2 separate regions of the Homo sapiens genome follow, and region 1 is linked to region 2. The links are contacts of gene promoters, found by promoter capture Hi-C in blood cells and fetal thymus (Javierre and others, 2016). All regions are on one chromosome and are shown on one strand. The core of a region is centred on a gene start or on the middle of the fragment in contact, and the rest is flanking DNA. Distances in the headings are between cores, read along the strand shown. Region 1 overlaps SLFN12 (schlafen family member 12). Region 2 holds the start of SLFN5 (schlafen family member 5).

Region 1 (5,849 bases), core at 981-3,480, 170 kb after region 2:
CAAGGAGGTGAAAGATCTCTACAAGGAAAACCACAAAACACTGCTGAAAGAAATCATAGATGAAACAAACAAATGGAAACACATCCCATGTTCATGGATAGGTAGAATCAATATTGTGAAAATGACCATACTGACAAAAGCAATCTACATCAATGCAATTCCCATCAAAATACCATCATCATTCTTCGCAGAACTAGAAAAAATAACCCTAAAATTTATATGGCACCAAAAAAGAGTCCACATAGCAAAAGCAAGACTAAGCAAAAAGAACAAATCTGGAGGCATCACATTACCTGACTTCAAATTATGCTACAAAGCTATAGTTACCAAAACAGCATGGTTCTGATATAAAAATAGGCATGTAGACCAGTGGAATAGAATAGAGAACACTGAAAGAAAGTCTAATGCTTACAGTTCAATTGGATCTTCAACAAAACAAGCAAAAACAAAGTGGGGAAAGGACACCCCATGCAACAAATGGTGCTGGGATAATCGGCAAGCCACATGTAGAAGAATAAAACCAGATCCTCATCTCTCACCTTATACAAAAACCAACCCAACAGGAATCAAAGACTTAAATCTAAGACCTGAAACCATAAAAATTCTACAAGATAACATCAGAAAAACAATTCTAGACGTTGGCTTAGGCAAAGAGTTCATAACCAAGAACCCAAAAGCAAATGTAACAAAAACAAAAATAAATAGATGAGAAGTAACTAAACTAAAAGGCTTCTGCACAGCAAAAGAAATAGCAGAGTAAAAAGACAATCCACAGAGTGGGAGAAAATATTTGCAACCTATGCATCTGACAAATGACTGATATCCAGAATCTATGAGGAACTCAAACAAATCAGCAAGAAAAAAACAAAGAATCCCATCAAAAAGTGGGCAAAGGATATAAATAGACAATTCTCAAAAGAAGATATACAAATGGCCAATGAACATGAAAATATGCTCAACATCACTAATGATCATGGAAATGAAAATTAAGTCCACAATGAGACCATCTTACACCTGCAAGAATGGCCATAATTAAAAGTCAAAAAATAATAGATGTTGGCAAGTATGCACTGAAAAGGGAATTCTTTTATACTGCTGGTGTGAATGTAAACTATTACAACCACTGTGGAAAAATGTGTGGAGATTCATTAGGGAATTAAAAGTAGAACTACCATTTGCTCCAGCAATCCCACTACTGGGTATCTACTGAGAGGAAAATAAGTCATTACATGAGAAAGATGTTTGCACACACATTTATAGCAGTACAATTTGCAATTCCAAAAATATGGAACCAGCCTAAATGCCCATCAGCCATCAAGTGGATAAAGAAAATGTGGTATATATACACCATGGAATGCTATCAGTCATAAAAAGGAATGAAATAATGGCATTCACAGCAACCTGAATGGGGTGGGAACCATTATTCTAACTGAAGTAACTCAGGAATGGAAAACCAAATATTGTATGTTCTCACTCATAAGTGGGAGCTAGGCCATGAGGACACAAAGACTAAGAATGATACAAAGGACTTTGGGGACTCAAGGGGAAGGGTGGAAGGGGAATGAGGGATAGAAGACTACACACTGGGTACAGTGTACATTGCTCAGGTGATAGCTGCACCAAAATCTCAGAAGTCACCACTAAAGAACTTATTCATGTAACCATAAACCACTTGTTCCCCAAAAACTAGTGAAATAAAAATTTTAAAAATTAACATATAAGATACCTAGAAAAAGCATACATTTTAAAAGTACTTACTACACAAAGTAAATAAATTTTTGAAACCAATCTGCTTTGTTCTCACAAGAAAATAAAAATAGCCTGAAATAAGGATCTGAAATATAAGTCAGACTAATACTGAGATGCCAGCTATTGAATTTAGGATTCCTTAAAAATATCTTACCAAAATTAACACCGAAGGAAACAGAAAGAGTAGGCAACCCTTTTATTAAAAAACCAGAAATATGTCAGGCACAGTGGCTCAAGCCTGTAATCCTAGAGCCCTGATAGGCTGAGGCAGTTGGATCACTTGAGCCCAAGAGCTTGAAGCTGCAGTGAGCCATGATCACACCGCTACACTTCAGCCTGGGTGACAGAGCCAGTTCCTGATTGAAAAAAGAACTAACAGTCTTCCCACAAAAGGAAGACAAACCATTTTACAGGCAAATTCCACCACAATTTCAAGCATATCATTCTAATCTTATATAAATTTTTTCAAAGGATAGGAAAAGAGGAAATAATCCCCAACTCATTCTGAGTTCAGCACAATTTTAATACAAATACTAGACAAAGAAAGAGAGAAAACTATTCTTAGACCTTGTCACTCATGGATTTAGATACAGAAATTCTAAATTAAGTATTAGCAGCTGAATAAAAATGCATAAAAAAGATAATACTGCAAGACCGAACTGAGTTTGTTCCAGGAATGCAAAAAAGGCTTAATAGAAAATATTAAACATCATTTGCCAATCAACATATTAAAAACATTTAATCATGTCAACAGGAGTAGAAAATGTGTTTGATAAAATTCAGTATTCATCCATGATAAAAAAAGAAAAAACATTTAGTAAACTAGAAATATCATTAAACTTCCTTAGCCTGATAATGGTATATTCAAAGTACCTAAGGCAAACCTCAATTTCTTTTTTTTATTATTATACTTTAAGTTCTGGGGTACATGTGCACAATGCACAGGTTTGTTACATAGGTATACATGTGCCATGTTGGGCAAACCTCAATTTAAATGGGAAAGCCATAGACACACTCTCTTTAAAATCTGAACTAAGACTATTTGCATTAAGAATTGTCTAAAAGTTTTCTTCAGTTCATTAGGACAAGAAAAAAAGACATTAAAGGCAGAAAGATTGGAAAGGAAAAGACAAAACATTTTATGATCTGCATATTTGTTTATACAAAATGTAAATAATCTATGGACAGATTATTTAAAATAATAAGGAAACCTAACAATGTGGCCTTATATAAACTCAGTATGTAAAAATCAACTGCATTTCTACACATTAGCAATAAACAAGAAAATGGAACTTTTAAAAAAAATATCTTTACAACAACAAAAATAAAAGGAACCTAGACATAAGTGTAATAAAAGATGTACAAAATGTGTACACAGAAATTTATGAAACTATAAAGGCATTAAAGAAGATATAAATAAGTAAAAAGATTTCCTATACTCAAGGATACAACTTACTGATATAAATATGCCATGTCTTCCCAAATCTATCTAGAGATGCACTGTAACTGCAAATCAAAATCCCAAAAGTTTTTTTGGCATTTAAGCAGATTCTAAAGTGTGTATAGAAGATTAAATGATTAAAAATTGCCTAGACACTCTCAAAGAAAAACTAAAGGGCTTACCCTACCAGATATCGATACTTAGTATAACATTACAGTGGCAGGGACAGACAATTTGATCAAGGAAACATAATAGAGATTCTAGAAAGAGGATTATCTATAGATATACAGTTGACCCTTGAACAACATGGGTTTGAATTGCATGGGTCCACTTACGCCAAGATCTTCTTCCACCTCTGCCACCCCAAGATAGCAAGACCAACCCTTCTCTTCCTCAGCCTACACAACGTGAAGGCAATGAGTACGAAGACCTCTAAATGATCCATTTACACCTAATTTATAGAAAATATATTTCCTCTTCCTTATGACTTTCTCAATAACATTTTCTTTTCTCTAGCTTACTTTATTGTAAGAATATAGTATATGATACTTATTGTAAGAATATAGTATATGATACACACAAAATATGTGTTAATTGACTACGTTATTGGTAAGGCTTTGGGTCAAAAGTAAGCTATTAGTAGTTAACTTTTTGGAAAGTCAAAAGTTATACACCGATTTTCGACTGCACCTTTTGTTCAAAGGTGAATTGTACTTAGTAATATGATGAAGGTGGCATGGCAGATCATGGTGAAAGTGAGACTTTTCAGTATTGCGGCTGGGAAAGTTGTTATCCACATGGAATAAAATGAAATAGCATGCTACATTACTGTCTATTGAGATGGATTGTGTATTTATTTATTTGTTTGTTTGTTTGTTTGTTACTTACTGAGACAAGGTCTCACGCTGTTGCCTGGGCTGGAGTACAGTGGTGTGATCTCAGCCCACTGCAAGCTCCGCCTCCTGGATTCAAATGATTCTTGTGCCTCAGTCTCCTGAGTAGCTGGGTCTGCAGGTGTGCACCACCACACCTGGCTAATTTTTGTATTTTAGTAGAGACACGGCTTCACCATGTTGGCCAGGCTGTTCTCTTGGCCTCAAGTGATCCGCCCACCTCTGGATTGTGTATTTACATGTTAAATGTTGAGTGCAAAACTTTAAAATTTTTAGGAGAAAATTAAAAGAAATATCTTTATAATCCTAGTGTATAGAAGGATCTCTTATGCAAGGCACAAAGAGCACTAAACCGCAACATTTTAAATGATAGTTTTGCCTACATTAAAATTTAAAACTACTACTTATGAGAGTATACCTTAAGAAAAGAGAAAATGCAAGCCACCAGCTTGGAGAAAACATTTGGTAGTCGTTAATACCTATGACTAAAAGAGGATTTTATTCTAGAATCTCTAAATTACTCCTATAAATCAATAAGAAAAAGACAAAGCTTATTAGAAAAATGGTCAAAGACAAAATAGACACTGCACAGAAGATGAAATATATATGGCCAGTAAGTATATGGAGAGATGCTCAACCCAATCAATAACCAGGGAAATGCACATCACAAAGACATACCATTTTATACACATTTGATTGAGAAGAAGGAGGTCAAGAGAAGGACAACCATAAATAAGAAAAATTTGACAACTGGAGAAGATGTGGCATTTCTAATATATTGCTGATGGGAGTAACATGACCTATCTACTTTCAAAACAATTTGGCATTATCTTATTACTTGAATATTCACACACCTCCTGAGCCAACAATTCTACTCCTACTTAGGCACCCAGGAGAAAATCTTGCACATATGCACTAGAAGACCGACTAAGAATGTTCAAGGTAACACTGTTCATGTCACAGAAAGCAGGAAATAACTCAATTGCCCATCATCAACAACAACAACAAAAACAGATAGATCAATCAGAGATCCTGAGTACTGATGGCGTTTCTTCAGTAACTGAACATAGCTATGCCTGAAGGTGGGCCTCAATCTAGACTGCTCAGTGACATGATATATATGCTTTCTTTTTTTGTTTGTTTAAACTAAACTGACTTGGGTTGCTCTTACTTTCAAGTAAACGAGTTTGTATTGCACCAAGAAAATTCTAACCCAAATATAAAGAAATAGGATTTGACAGATTCAATGACTTAAAACACCAAAGAATTCTCATAAACACAAGAATGTGCTTTCAGAGCAAATTTCAAGACTGAGCTGGTTTGAAGAGAAAGAGGTTTGACTACAGTCACACTAACAAATCCGAAGAAGCCAGAATGAAATTACCTGGACAGTGATGTCTCTGCCGTTGCCATTCCAAAAGAGGCCAACTGTGGGGAGCAGGTAATGACGTATTTATTTGAGAGATCACCTCTTCATATGAACTGGAAAATTCTTAAAAACAAAAATATCACATTCTTAATTTCGCAGAAGGGAGACCCCAACTAACTAATGCATAGTATTATATATTAAAAGTCTACTTGTAACTGATTCTGTTTTCCAAAAAAAAATTAATGTTAGATATTGTGGTTAGATTCTTAGGTCAGATACAAATTGCAAAATTAACTTTTGATGCCACTGACACACTATATTTCAAATGAAAATTAACAGTAAAAATGCATTAATAGTAATTTAATACATTACCATATAATTGGGTTTATTTTTAAAG
Region 2 (5,957 bases), core at 3,458-5,957:
TTTGGGTTTAACGTTTTCTTTTCTTTTTACTTTGAGACAGGGTCTTGCTATATTGCCCAGGCTGGTCTTGAACTCCTGGCCTCAAGCAATCCTCCTGCCTCAAACTCCCAAGTAGCTTGGACTACAGGTGGGCACCATTGAACCCTCTAATGTTTCCTTATAGTTACTTTCTATTGTGCTGTTTTGTTTTGTTTTATTGGGTCAGGAATACATAAGAAATAAAAATTGTTCTTTTAGTGGCATGCAATTTAATTTGTCCTGTTACTAATGATGTTAACTTTGATCACTTGGTTGAGGTGATATATTCCAGGATTCTCTGGAAAATTAGTGTCTTTTTCCTTTGTAATAAATAGAGCATCTTGTGGGGATATGCTTTGAGACTCTGTAATTACCCTCAGTGTGCTAAAGATCTGAGGGGATATAGAGAGAAAATTCTGAGTCACACTTTCATTTCATGTAGCTGAAAAAGCAACTTAAACATTGGACTTGACTGAAATTAAGCTTGGACTTAACTGAGCTCCTTCAGGAAAAGCTTAATTACTTACTGAGACAGGAAAATCATCAGGACACTCTCGGATCTCAATGTGGGTACTGGGAGTGCCAGAGAACCAAGATTCTCCCTCCCACTCTCTCTGATGTGTGTGATTCATATGAACATTGATAAAGGATGTCTCATCCCTCCTTCAAGTAAACTTGTTCTGACAAAATTTCACCACACTTTGTCAAATGGCAAACATTGTTCCTAAGAAACATCATATACGTGTTTATGCAAATTTTGTTTTTTAAACTTTTTATCAAGAAAAGAAAAAAAGTGGAAAATATGTTTTTGCCTGAAAAGTGAATATTATAAACAAGTAGCTTGGGTTTGAAAGATAGTCTGTGGAAACACAGATAAGGCTCTATGCTAAGATGCTTGCTGCTATAATCCTCAGTCCCCTAGTAAAAGTTTCTGCAAAAAGCTTGGCCAGCCATGATGCCATTGAGCATTGACCCCCATAATCAATCTCCCTGTGACTCTCACGGAGAATGCTGAAGCAAATTTTCTGTAGTGAGGGATCTGTAGACCATGGCATGCAGCCTCCAGTCTCACTGTGCAGACTGAGGACAGTGACACAGGTCATTGACACACGGCTGACCTAGGCAGTGATTCTCCCTACACTAATACAGTGATTCTTTCTGTGAGAGACTGCCTGCCCTTAATAAGATAACATGCCCCTTTGGCCGGGCACAGTGGCTCACGCCTGTAATCCCAGCACTTTGGGAGGCCGAGGCGGGCGGAACATGAGGTCAGGAGACTGAGACCATCCTGGCTAACACAGTGAAACCCCGTCTCTACTAAAAATACAAAAAAAAAAAAAATAGCTGGGTGTGGTGGCGGGCACCTGTAGTCCCAGCTACTCAGGAGGCTGAGGCAGGAGAATGGCATGAACCTGGGAGGTAGAGCTTGCAGCGAGCCAAGATCGAGCCACTGCTCTCCAGCCTGGGTGACAAAGCGAGATTCTGCCTCAAAAAAAAAAAAAAAAAAAAGAATAACCTGCCCCTTTAACCTACCAACTCTCTTCTCCTCTTTAGTTTGTTGAAGCAAAAACAACGTAAATATTGCATTAACCAAGTGTGTGTATGAGAGAGAGAGAGAGAGGAGAGAGAGAGAAGAGAGAGAGAGAGAGAGAATGAGCAGTTATGGCTCTTGGCATTTTTTACTGGACAAGGCAAACCTAAAGATTTTACTTTTAAACTTGAATTAATGCTGAGAGTAAGTCACATCTGCCCTCACTTCCCTCCCACTCCACACAAACATGCATACCACTGGAAAGGCAACATTTTATCAAAGGCATTTGGCGTTTTTCCTCTCTTATGACCCTCTAGAAGCTTGAGAATGTGGGAGAGAAGGGCTGGAACCAGAAATGGAGAAGTAGTGCTGGAACAATAATGACCTGAAAGCCAGTGGAACTGAGGTCTCCTGCAGGAACTTTTGGGGAGGCCTGGATACTTTGGAGACCAATGGGTATGGATGGAAAGAAGAGCAGAAATGATTCAGCTCATAAAGCAGTGAAAAGGAATGATCTAAGTACATGAACAAATCTTTAAAGCAAAATGTTAAAGTGTGGGAGCAAGTTCTACAGAACACATACAATATGATACTTTTTTTTTTTTTTTTAAAGAGACAGGGTCTCACTCTATTGCCCATGCAGGGGTGCAGTGGCACAATCAGAGCTCATAGCATCCTTCAACTCCTGGGCTCAAGCCATCTTCCCACTTCAGCCTCCTGAGTAGCTGGGACTTCATAGGCAGGCACCACCACACCCAGCTAATTTAAAACAATTTTTTTGGCTGGGCGCGGGGGCTCACACCTGTAATTCCAGCACTTTGGAAAGCCGAGGCAGGCAGATCATGAGGTCAAGAGTTCGTAGACCAGCATGGCCAATATGGTGAAACCTTGTCTCTACTAAAAATACAAAAATCAGCTGGGCGTGGTGGGATGTGCCTGTAGTCCCAGCTACTTGGGAGGCCAAGGCAGGAGAATTGCTTGAACCCCGGAGGCCGACATTGCAGCAAGCCGAGATTGCGCCACTGCACTCCAGCCTGAGTGACACAGCAAGACTCCGTCTCAAACAAACAAACAAACAAACAAACAATTTTTTTTTTTTAGAGATAGGGTCTTGCTATGTTGCCCAGGCTGGTCTCAAACTCTGGGCCTCAAGCCGTCTTCCCTCTCAGCCTTCCAAAGTGCTGGAATTACAGTCGTGAGTAACTGCACCTGGCCAACATGATGCCATTTACATGCAGCTTAAACGCATATACATGTGTTGAATCAGTGTCATGTGTTGATGAGGGACATAAACACATTTACTAAAAGTATAAACAGTTGCATGGGAATTAGTAACTTTAAATTCATAAAATTGTACTGGCTATCAGGTGAGTAGGGGACAAGTGGAATGAGGGAATGAGACCAGCTGGGTACCCAAATATTGCTAATGTTATTGCTTAAGCTGTGTGGTGAATACACAGGTGTTCAATTTACTATTATTTCGCACTTTCCGTGTACTTTAGCTATTTGACAATACATTTAAAAATCGAAAACTTATCCCATAATCCCAGGCTCCAGAGGTGATAGTAGGTGGTGTTTTCCAGACCTTTCCCGCTGCCTTGATTTTCTGTTAACTGGCCACCATCCTTGTCTCCTCGCGCTGCCGGTCGCTGCAGAACCCCTGCGCGGAGGGACTGCCAGTTCCCAGGAAGGTGCAGGACAGCTGGAGCCTCTTCTTCTCTGGGCAGGGATTTAAATGTTCTTGGGTAGCCTCGCCAGAGACCTGTGCGGCCCTACAGTGACCTTCTTTCCAGCCACTTTCCCATGAGCTCAAAGCTTTGGATTCTGTCACTTGCAAAGGGTCAGGCCTGATCCCTTGCGGGTTCTTGAGAAGTGAGTAAGACTTCCAGCGCCCCGGCCCAGACTGCGACGACCCAGACTGCGACGACCCAGTCTGCGCCTGGCGCAGGCTCCATAGACGGCTTTTCTTCAGCTCTGTCCACTGAGACCTCGAGCCCTTGAGCAGAAGATGGGAGAGAGAGGGTCTTGCTGGGCGGGCTCCAGAAGTCCTCCTGGCTCTGGGCGCAGGAGTTGGAAGAGAAGAGATAGAGAAACATCTACTCACCAGAATTGTAAACTGGAAGAAGGGTAGAGGAAAGGTGCCTAGAGAGGGCAGCTGGAATCAGGATTGGGCTGAATATTTTAGGAGTCCCCAAGTGCTACTTCTATCCGCTGGGAGCACGGGTTCGAATCTGCCCCCAGGCAGCCCGCTCCTGGTTCTCTTGTCCCCCTGTGCTGCGGCGGGGCCCACTTCGGCCCTCGGGTTCCCCGCACAGGCCACACAGGGCAGCAGCGCGCGCCGTACCCACGGGCAGTTCGAGAGGGCCGCGCGTGGCGGAGCCAGGCCCTTCGCCAGCGCCCAGTACAAATTTAGTACTAGAATTAAGAGAAACACACTGAAATCTGACAGCCCCGCCTAAGACCCGGGCGTGAGGAAGTCTGCGGTGGGTGATGAATACAAAGAACAGTTTCTCTTTCCTGTCAGTAAAACGCTGTTTCCAGAGCCTGCCAGGTTTCGCCCCAGTGGCCACACCTATGCCTGGCAGGTGCTGGTCCGAGCCCCTAGCGCCAGCAAAAGAAAGGAGGCGGACGCAACATTCTCGAATTACTAGGAGAAGGAGGGAGGCTTTCCCTTCCCCCCAGTGCCCCATGTACCAACGCGTCTCGCCATACCCCTTGCCCCTCTTCCAGCAGCTGACGGAGTAATTCGAGTAGGAATCGAAAGATTTGGAGGCGCCGGGGGAGAAACCTGCGGAGCGCTCTCCGAGCCTGTGGCGTCCCAGGAAGACTCCGAGCGGGGCCAGGGAAGTTCTCTGGAGGACATGGGGTGGATACCCAGGTCTCCTTCCCTGGGTGAAATAAGAACTGAAAATCTAAAAATAAAATAAATAAAATAAAATAGAAAACACAGAGAAGCAACAAAAAAGCGCTTCCCCTCCTCAGTTCTCCCCAGTCCACCCAAGGTTTACCAAGACTGTTGTAGTTGCAAGAGTGGGCTTCCGGCTCCACGTAACGATGCGATTGGGCTGTACCTCTGTCTGTCTCCTGCGCGATGTCCCGCCCCGGGAGGTGTCACGGAACTCAGCTGATATAAGCCCGGGATCCCGCCGGGTCAGGTTCTCTGCTCTGGACTTGGGAGGCTCCGTTGCCTGCTCCCGGAGGGAGACGCGCTGCCGAGGAGAACCCAGCGGGTAATGAATCCCCCGCGCTTCTTTGCCCAGGCCTTCCCCAAACCTCCCCCCGGTCTGCGCGGGTTCTCCTATTGGGCTGTGGTGAAGACAAGGTGCGGCGACTGCAGCTCCCCAGGTCTGGGCGCTGCCGGGAGAGAGTCTTTCCCGCTGGGGAGATTTAGTTTGTTGACTCAGGAGCACCTCCAACGACAGCTAGTGGCAGAGGACCCGGGAGCTGGGAGGTTCGGAACGCGGGGCGAGCTGGGGAGGAGGGAGAGGCGCCGACCCAGCGCAGCCTACATCTTAGCAAACCAAACCTGGCAACATTTCCCCACGGTTCAGGAGCACGAAGGACTTAAGGGAAAACGACGAAATCGGGGCTCCCGAGGATGAAGTTAAATGGGTTGTGGCCTGGGGACAAATAGGGCCAATGTCCAGTCTATTACAAGAGGCTTTGTTCCAGAGGCTTGCCTATAAGCCCCTGGCTTGGAACGTCAGTCTTCAAACTGTAACAACAGGGGCAGGCTACTAGGGTAGCCCACAAAGCCCTGTATCCCCCATACAGTGACTAACTAGAGCCCTAGTTGGTCATATCCGCAGTGGCTGAGACTGCGGTGTGATTCCGTTTCCCTCTTGCATGTGTCCCGGGAGCCCGAGTTGTCGAAGCCCAAATTCAGGCTCAGGAACCTGATGTGCTGTTGATGCCAAACACTGACACACAGATGCTTGGAGACAGAGGAAGATTTATTCCATTTGGCCAAAGCGAGAAGGCAAGAGGTCAAGATCTCTCAAATCCACCCTAACAAAAAGAAGTAGTGGGGAGTTTTTATGAGACCAGGAAGTAAGGGAGGGGGAATTTCAGGGAACCTCGGGGAAAAGTCTTTCTTCGTCTCAGATTACATCTTGAACCACCAGACTTCTGGGCGTCAGCAGCTGGTCACAATGCCCTTAAAGGCATTCATTCCTTCTGCAAAATTTTTTTCTTGACTCTGAAGCTATATCCTCCTGCTTGACAAAGAAACGGTGCATCAGCAGTTTATAATTATATTGCTAGAAAAAGGAATATTGGGCAAAAAGTGGGTAGTTAACATATGCAAATAAGCAAGGGCCTCATCGGAATTTTCATGGTTTCATCACTAAAAATGTTGGGGTGCTGAAATCTTGAGGGGCTCGGTTGCACCAGAAGGGGATCCTTTGTC

Evidence for each region. Contacts are between HindIII fragments. The CHiCAGO score rates a contact against its expected background, and 5 or more counts as called.
Region 1: a contact is called between a fragment that was not itself captured here and the fragment with the promoter of SLFN5 in region 2, in 1 of 17 cell types (total CD4 T cells). The highest score is 5.2, in total CD4 T cells.

The regions. Positions count from the first base shown.
Region 1 is chr17:35,414,807-35,420,655 of GRCh38, forward strand. It overlaps SLFN12 (schlafen family member 12), which reads right to left. Exons shown (of 4, transcript NM_018042.5): 3 at 5,468-5,575. Among named protein-coding and RNA genes, the nearest start is that of SLFN12, 15 kb to the right of the region's middle. RefSeq lists a silencer at 2,002-2,051. The HindIII fragment of the contact is 4,801 bases long and covers 1-4,631 here.
Region 2 is chr17:35,238,365-35,244,321 of GRCh38, forward strand. SLFN5 (schlafen family member 5) reads left to right here and starts at 4,708. Exons shown (of 5, transcript NM_144975.4): 1 at 4,708-4,779. LOC105371932 reads right to left here and starts at 5,787. Exons shown (of 4, transcript XM_047437262.1): 1 at 5,747-5,787; 2 at 4,558-4,855; 3 at 4,262-4,461; 4 at 1,679-3,606. The coding sequence starts at 5,787. The coding sequence ends at 3,159. RefSeq lists enhancers at 4,460-4,519, 5,040-5,149, 5,123-5,751. The HindIII fragment of the contact is 6,062 bases long and covers 3,363-5,957 here.